3 separate regions of the Homo sapiens genome follow, and all the other regions are linked to region 2. The links are contacts of gene promoters, found by promoter capture Hi-C in blood cells and fetal thymus (Javierre and others, 2016). All regions are on one chromosome and are shown on one strand. The core of a region is centred on a gene start or on the middle of the fragment in contact, and the rest is flanking DNA. Distances in the headings are between cores, read along the strand shown. Region 1 overlaps NAGK (N-acetylglucosamine kinase). Region 2 holds the start of PRADC1 (protease associated domain containing 1). Region 3 holds the start of PAIP2B (poly(A) binding protein interacting protein 2B).

Region 1 (2,700 bases), core at 167-2,666, 2.2 Mb before region 2:
GTGGAATCTGCCACCTCATGTATTAACTACCCCCTTGAAATTTCATGTCCTCTTTGAGTTTGATGAGCGGTCTTCAGTGTCTTCTTCTGCCATTCCTAAAAGTAATGATCAATAAAGAAACATATATCCCATCACCACAGATCTCCCTGTGAACTACTGTGACCCCCAGTAATCAACATTTGAAGGTTTAGTTGCTTAAGTATGTATGAAGTCACCCTGCCATCTGGTCAGCATTTCTAGCAAAGGTGTCTTGAAGACCTTGGCAGCTGGATCTTGAAATGCAGTCTTTAGCTATTGTGAGGGAAGCAGAGAGATGTGCCATTTTTCTTAGGAGTGTTTGCTGAGCATTGCCTGTGCCAGCTCCTGTGCTCGTTCTGAGAGGGTAAGTAAGTGATCAGGAGCTTGACCCAGTGGAGCTTGAAGTCTAGTGAGAGGCGGACACAAAGCGTCTGAACACACACTTCATACAGAGGAGACTTTAATAACTTTGGAGGCACTATGAAGGTTTAACTAACGGAGACTTAACTAATTCGTTGGGGTGGGCCACACCTCAGAAAAGGTTTCGAGGACTAGGTGAAGCGTAAGTAGAGTCTTGCAGGATAAGGAGGACATCCCCAAGGGAAGAGGAGTGAGAATTATGTTTCAGTTAAAGAGCACTCAAACACTGAACCACAGAGGCGGGTTTGGGAGTGGTGATTGAGTTTGTCGAAGCTGTCTCCTCCATCATACTGGGCTCTGCCAGTGTGGACAGCACAAGCTTAGCTCTCTCTGTGGGTTTTTCCGAGCAAGATCAAGTGCCCTCTTGTGTTCTGTAGGGGAGGCACACGATCCGAGGTCCTTTTAGTCTCAGAGGATGGGAAGATCCTGGCAGAAGCAGATGGACTGAGCACAAACCACTGGGTAAAAACCACACTGAGGGGATCAGAGGGCTTGGTTCTGATTTTATTCTCTGTAATTCCTGTTGAGGTGGTGGCTGGGACTCACAGAGCAGCCTGTGGGGGCAACATAGCTTCTGTAAGCCTTTGTAACTCCTTCTTCCCTTGATTGGGGCCAGCTGATCGGGACAGACAAGTGTGTGGAGAGGATCAATGAGATGGTGAACAGGGCCAAACGGAAAGCAGGGGTGGATCCTCTGGTACCGCTGCGAAGCTTGGTGAGTCTGGGGCGGAGCCTGGGAATTCAGCCATCTGTGACACTGAGACAGCTAGCAAGTTTGGACTAGATGAGTTTGATGACTGCAGAGGGAAAGACCTCCAAGACTTAGTCCCTGGTGTCAAAACTGTCATAATCTCACCCAGTCTCATGGCTTCAGTTGCCACCTACAAACTACAAATGTGTTGGAAGAGCACAGGGCTTTGGAGAGCTGCTGAGACCTTGGTTTGAATCCCAGCTTTGCTGCTCAGTATCTGCGTAACCCTGTGTAGGTTACTCACCTTCTCTAAGCCTCAGTTTCCTCATTTGGAAAATGTGAATAGTAGCTACCTCAGAGTTGTTGGGAAAGTAAAATGGCATGATACATTGCAAAGTGGTTAGTATAGAGCCTGACCCATAAGCACTCATTAAATGTTAGCTATTATTTACTCCTGGTTCAGATCTTTCTCCCAAGTTGCGGTAGCTCCAGCTACTCCCTGGACATATATGTGAGATGTTCTGCAGACACAGGCAAACCTCGTGTATACCAAACCAAGCTTACCTCTCTCCATCTCCCCTCACCTTGCCCCGCTGCCTGATCTTTCTGTTAAGAGCACTACTGCCCTTCCAAGCTCCAAAGCTGGCATTGTTGAATCCCCTCTTTCTTCTGTCCATCCCCAGTCCAGGTTGTTCTTATAACCACAGCCTTCTGAGGGGTCATTGTGTGGGGAGAAAGGAGGACTGGGGCTGGGTGAACAGGGTATGGCCAGATGGGGAGAACAGGAATCAGGCATCAGGAGGGGGCGGGGGTTGAGAAAAGAGCTGGGGCTGGGGCTCTGCACACTCGCTCACCTCCCGCGTGGCCTAGGGCCTATCTCTGAGCGGTGGGGACCAGGAGGACGCGGGGAGGATCCTGATCGAGGAGCTGAGGGACCGATTTCCCTACCTGAGTGAAAGCTACTTAATCACCACCGATGCCGCCGGCTCCATCGCCACAGCTACACCGGATGGTGAGGAAGTGGAGGGAGGGGTGAGAGTGAGAACTGGTTTTTTTGGGAAAGCCCCTTAGATATAGCTGACAAAACTTGTTCTGCAAATATCCAGAAGGCAGCCACTCTTATATTCCCCTCAACTCTTTAAGTAGTTTAAGTCTCTGCCAGAGCAAGGACCAGGCAGCAGGAGGAAGGGCAAGAAAGGTCTCTTGATGGGAATCCAGGAGTGGGGTCAAACATAACTCCCCTGCAGATGAGGGACCACCTGGGGGCGGTGTAGTGAGGAAGGCAGGCTGGGGAAGCTGTCAGTGCTGAGGAGGAAGTGGGGTGGCCTTGTGATAGTGTAAAGAGTTTTGGTGTCATGGGATTGGTGTTTGAATCCCAGTTCCTGTTTTGCCTGCTATACCATGTTGGCGAAGTTCCAAAACTCTGAGTTTCAGTTTTCTCATCTATAAAATAGAGGAAGTTGTATTCATAAGATGGTTTAGGGTATGAGTGAATATCACTGTGAGAACGGGTCTAGCACAATCCCAGTAAAGCAGGTAGAGTCACTGGAAGACCGGCTGGGCAAGGAGCC
Region 2 (2,700 bases), core at 103-2,602:
ATCTAGCTCCACAGCACCGATGAAGAGAATTTCCAGACCACTAGATTTTTCTGGGGCATGGGATCTTCTCCTCAGCACCAAAGTTTAATGTTGTACCTGGACTTGAGTCCCTGGTTTCCTTAACCCAGAGAGACTGCGGAATGTTGAAAGATAAAAACTGCTGTCATGGGCGGGCGCGGTGGCTCACGCCTGTAATCCCAGCACTTTGGGAGGCCGAGGCGGGCAGATCACGAGGTCAGGAGATCGAGACCATCCTGGCTAACACGGTGAAACCCCCGTCTCTACTAAAAATACAAAAAAATTAGCCGGGCGTGGTGGTGGGCGCCTGTAGTCCCAGCTACTTGGGAGGCTGAGGCAGGAGAATGGCGTGAACCCGGGAGGCGGAGCTTGCAGTGAGCCGAGATCGGGCCACTGCACTGCAACCTGGGCGACAGAGCAAGACTCCGTCTCAAAAAAAAAAAAAAGAAAAAAAGAAAACTGCTGTCACAAGTCTGTTAGTCTATCAACAAACTACCAAGTCACTACTGTGTACCAAGGATGGCATTAAGGCTTTAGCTGTCTTTGTTTACTGCCCAAATCACAGCCATCAGTTAGAGCTCCCATGGCTTGGCACTGGGCTATACAGTCCTGGGAGTGGGGACTCCCTCTCGGATACAAATACACCCCCAGAAAGCCTTCCTGGACTAGCGTCAAACTCACTCCCTCCTCCCCAACCCTTGCTTGCCTTTGTGTGTGCTTATTTGTGTAAGTTGTGGGTATACGTATGTGCTCACTTATGTGCATAGATGTATACATTTATGTGCTTGTGTAGGTGTAAACGGTTTGTGCGTGTGTGCCCACGTGTAGGAATGTGTGCTCCTGTGTACATGTGAATGCTCACATACATATCTCCAGCCTGTAGTATCCTTCCTTAGCTGTCCCTTCTGGTCGCACCCTAAGTCACCTGGGTCGGCGCTAGTGGGCGGGGAGGGGCGAGTGGGGAGATCTGCTTTGTCGTGGGAAGGTGAGGAGTCAGAGCTTCAGCCTCAGGCTGCGCCCACTTTATGTCCTTGGACCACCACCCACTTATTCCGGCCGCCCGCTCCCAGACCTGTCCTGCTCTGAACTCGCAGGGTCCCCAAGGTGACCCTTGGCCCCCAACCCGAGACGCGCGCAAGCTGGACGGCCAGCCCCGCCCTGCAACGCAGTCCCACCCGTTGCCGCTCACCGTGGGCCGCGACGCACGCGGGGAGCCAGAGCACGAGACAACACCAGCCCGCGGCGCCGGGGACCATCTCCAGGGCCGGGCCCGGCCCGGCGCCGCGTTTCCTCTCGCCGCCCCGCCGCGCGTCGCTCGCAGGACTTCAGCCTGACAGCTGCTCCGGCCTCCCGCCCACATACCCGCTCTCGCCGCGGGCTGGACGACGGGAACGAGGCTCAAGGCTGATTGGCTCTGACGCCTGCTCATGTAGCCACACTTTCCGCCTCTGCGCCTTAGCCTACTTCCTATTGGTCGAGAGAAGTGGAGCCGGGGGCTGATTGGCTTAAACTCTTAACAGCTACAACCGGCCTTCGCCTCAGCCCCGCCCCAGCATACTCTCCGGGTCCTCGCTGGCGGTGGGCGGGCCAGGGAGGACAAGCACTGGAGGTGTGCCCGTAGCCGGACTTGCTTCAGCTGTCGATAGTCGAGGCCGTTAACCCTTGCGGTCTCGGTCCTGTCCACTCCAAGGCCGCCTCGATTGACGACGATTAGCCTTCTCCCAGCTGCGCTTCCCTCCTCCCAGCTGCGCTTCCCTCCTCCCCACGCCTTCACGGGAAGGCACTCGTCTTGCGCCAGGGGGTCTTCCGCCCAGTGCCACCAACGCTTGCGCGCTCACCGTGGATAGGCGCTGGGGCCGCGGCCTGGCGCACGCCATCCACGAGGAGCCTCTGGCCAGTGCAAAGCCAGAAAACGGGCATTGGGGGCAGCTTCCCACGCTCGTCCCGTTGACACTGACTATGTAACTGTGACACTGGACACCTTGACCTCTCAGCCTCCTTTCTGTCATCAGTAAAATGGCCTTAATAGGACCAACGCAATAGGGTTGTGAGGATTAAATGAGATCGCTCACGTAAAGTGCTTTGGCACCAGCCTATCCCACACTTTGCGTCCCACACTTTTGCCTTTATTGCATTCCTTGGTCTGGCGTCCGGGGATGGAGGAGGGTGGAATTAAGTTAGTAGGTGATGCGGGCCGAGCAAAGACCCTCCGTGCTCTAAGAAGCACGACCGAAATGCGGCGACCCCTCTTTAATGAACGCCCCTCACTAGAGAGTCCCCGAAGCCCAGCCTCAGGTCCTTCTAGCCGCACCGAGTCGGTGGTAACGAACCATAGAGTAGCGGAAGTGGTCCGTTCTCTTCCTCTCCCGGCCCAAGCTTCTGGGTATTTCTATTGCGCGAGGCATTGTGGGTTGCTGGGCGGCCCGGTCTCGGAGAAGAGGGGAGAGTGGCGGGCCGCTGAATAAGCTTCCAAAATGATGGTGAGTGGCGTCTCGCGCATCCGTCGCCATCAGCTGCCATCTGGCCGGTGGCCGGCGCCGCTCGGCCTGGGCTTGCTCTGTAGGACCCTCTTTTGCTTGCCGCCTCTGTCCTCGCCCAGATCCCCAGCTTAGGGGCGACCCCAGCCAGCCGCGGCCTGGCTCGGCCCGAGCACGGCGCTGGAGCCGTTGGCGAGGGCTGCGT
Region 3 (2,700 bases), core at 13-2,512, 2.0 Mb before region 2:
AATGTTGTTTTTGGACAGATTCAATGCTGTTATTATCCCTTCATAGGTTGGGTGTGATCGAATCACACTGTGCTGTACAACTAAGTATGTTCTATATTTTATGACAAAGTAGGGTAGCCAGGCCCTTACACTACAAACTCCCAGAAACCCCAGTTAAGCTGTTTAAAGTATAATCCAATTCAATTTACTGAAAATAATAGTAACAAAATTTAAATCCCTTGCTTCTAGTTAGCCCTTTTCAACTGCATTTTCAGCAATTACCACCAAAAGAACTGCATTAGGACAAAGATTCTAGAGCGGGTATAATGGTCAAATGCCATTTGAAGGCAAAAACAGTCTACCAGGAACAAAACATTAAAGTTCCCAACCTTGCCAAACTCCCTGTTCTGCGTATTCTGCCTCTCTCAGTTCACCTTCCAGCTGCCTGGAAGAGGCAAGTGGAAAATGTTAGTTTTCTGGAGAGATGAGAATGGAATTTAGGGGTTGGTAGGGGGTGATGGGCTCACTCACGGACCGCAAGGCACAAGAGAAGTGGCGAACGTCTCCCAGGCAAATGAGGCATGAAGAATGAGGGCTGGAGTCAAGGGGGAGATGGAGCAAGTATAAAAAGGCAGAGGACGCGCAGGGGCCGCGAATAGGGGAAGGGCACGACGCGCAATCCCTCCCGCTCCAGCCCGGGGAGAGGGGCGGGGGATGCCGCGCGGGTCAATTTGCCTAGCATTGTTGCACCTGGGTAGAAATGGGACTCAGGCCAAGAATTCGGTTCGAGTGTTAGGAGGACGCTGAGGGGAGTCAGGAACTTGGGTGGGAGTCGGGGGGAAACAGAGCACCTGTGCGGGGGGGAAAGGGACGAAAACCCCCTATTGCTCCCGAGGGGCAGGGGCTGACCCCAGCGGACGCCCCTTTTCGCCGATGGCCGCGACGTGGGACCCCGCGCGCTTTCCCTCCCTACAGGAGCTCGGGCAGGCGCGTGCCGCCCTTCACAGCCCCGACGGCGGCAGAAAGGGAGGCGCAGGGCGCCCCCAGAGCCGGGAGAACGGCGTTTCCCTCGAGTCCTTTCCCCAGCAGCCCGGGCACCCGAGCCCACCTGGGCTAACCAGAAGCCCCTCCTTCAGATCGTACTCTGCCACTCCTCCGAGAGCTTAAGCCGTTGCCGTAGAGGTCGCCGTCGCCACAACAGTCTCGGCCTTTAGTACCAAAACGTGAAGCACAGCACCCGAGAAGCGCCACTACCACTTGCCAGGTTATCTCTTACTGCACACTGCCTCCTCGCCCCGCCCCCGAACCCAAGCCATTGGTTGCCGGGCACCGCCCCATTCGTCTATTGGGCCAAAGAAGATGCCGTTCGGTCACCTAGAATGGCATATGTGGTTTTTATTGGTCTAAATGTGAAGCAGTGCCCGCCCACTCCCTCAGAAGTTTCAGCTTCTGATTGGTTTTAATGTCTGTCTTTTCTCTTCCTTCATTTTTTTTTTCCTGTGGTGGAACACCTCCTTGAGGGAGATGCCGGCTCTGATTGGCTGAAAGGACGCTACGCTAGCCTGGGATAGGCATTGGGCCAAGGATGCGCCCGGCCCACTCGTGGGGGAGGAGACCAAGGCGCCGCACTCTGGGTTTGTTTACACAGGCTCTTGCTCCCGCTTCGTCTATTGGCTGAGCTGGAAGCCACTGCCACCGAGTTTTGCCTGTCAGCCTAGCAAGGAGGAGGGTGGGGGTGGGCCTCAGTAGGATTTCCCTCAGCTGTCAATTACCAAAGGAGGAGCTTTGATTCAGGCTGCTTTGGACCTGGTGCTATTCTCTGTAGGGAAAATTAAGGAATTGGGCTCCTTGGGAGGCTGGAAGGAAGCAAAGGGACGCTGGAAGGAAGCAGACGGATGCTTCCACGTTTCTAGAAACAAACCTAACTTCTTGAGTGCTTTAAAAAAATAAAACTTGGCCGGGCGCGGTGGCTCACGCCTGTAATCCCACCACTCTGGGAGGCCGAGACGGGCGGATCACAAGGTCAGGAGTTCTAGACCAGCCTCGCCAGTATGGTGAAACCCCGTCTCTACTAAAAATGCAAAAATTAGCTGGGCGTGGTGGCGGGCTCCTGTAGTCCCAGCTACTCGGGAGGCTGAGGCAGGAGAATCACTTGAACCCGGGAGGCAGAGGTTGCAGTGAGCCAAGATCGCACCACTGCACTCCAATCTGGGCAATAGAGTGAGGTTGCGACTCAAAAAAAAATACATCAATAAATACAAATTAAAATAAAACTTTATTGCCTCCCTTGGATTTAGAATGTCCAATCTGCTTGCAAAGGACTTCGAATTGTATTCCACAGGAAGTAGGGATTTCTTTGTGGAGCTCTTACTTTATACATTTTTCTCTCCCCCCCACCTCTCAAGCTGACTGTATACATGACACAAAGTTAGGGAATTGCAGAATGAATGGAAAAAATATAAAAATGAAAAAGATAAACTCAAATAACAATTATAAATATTAGCTGTATACTTTGATATGGTTTGGCTCTGTGTCCCCACCCAAATCTCATTTTGAATTATAATTCCCAATGTTGGGGGAGGGACTTGGTGGGAGGCGATTGGATCATGGGGGCAGATTTCCCCCTTGCTGTTCTCGTGATAGTGAGTGAGTTCTCACAAGGTCTGATGGTAAAAAAAGTGTGTGTCCTTCCCCCTTAGCTCTCTCTCCCTCTTGCTACCA

The links. The method cuts DNA at HindIII sites, captures the fragments that hold promoters and counts their contacts. A CHiCAGO score of 5 or more calls a contact.
Region 1: a contact is called between a fragment that was not itself captured here and the fragment with the promoter of PRADC1 in region 2, in 2 of 17 cell types (naive B cells and fetal thymus). The highest score is 8.2, in naive B cells.
Region 3: the fragment with the promoter of PAIP2B here is called in contact with the fragment with the promoter of PRADC1 in region 2 in 2 of 17 cell types (naive CD8 T cells and neutrophils); the score reaches 9.3 in naive CD8 T cells.

Annotation. Positions count from the first base shown.
Region 1 is chr2:71,069,687-71,072,386 of GRCh38, forward strand. It overlaps NAGK (N-acetylglucosamine kinase), which reads left to right. Exons shown (of 10, transcript NM_017567.6): 2 at 816-900; 3 at 1,055-1,153; 4 at 2,000-2,141. Among named protein-coding and RNA genes, the nearest start is that of NAGK, 2.4 kb to the left of the region's middle. The HindIII fragment of the contact is 539 bases long and covers 1,148-1,686 here.
Region 2 is chr2:73,231,887-73,234,586 of GRCh38, forward strand. PRADC1 (protease associated domain containing 1) reads right to left here and starts at 1,353. Exons shown (of 5, transcript NM_032319.3): 1 at 1,208-1,353. The coding sequence starts at 1,274. CCT7 (chaperonin containing TCP1 subunit 7) reads left to right here and starts at 2,422. Exons shown (of 12, transcript NM_006429.4): 1 at 2,422-2,498. The coding sequence starts at 2,493. RefSeq lists a silencer at 1,400-1,609 and enhancers at 1,897-2,428, 2,070-2,119, 2,240-2,309. The HindIII fragment of the contact is 3,259 bases long and covers 1-2,392 here.
Region 3 is chr2:71,225,841-71,228,540 of GRCh38, forward strand. PAIP2B (poly(A) binding protein interacting protein 2B) reads right to left here and starts at 1,263. Exons shown (of 4, transcript NM_020459.1): 1 at 1,088-1,263. RefSeq lists enhancers at 693-1,193, 1,409-1,548. The HindIII fragment of the contact is 3,788 bases long and covers 1-2,700 here.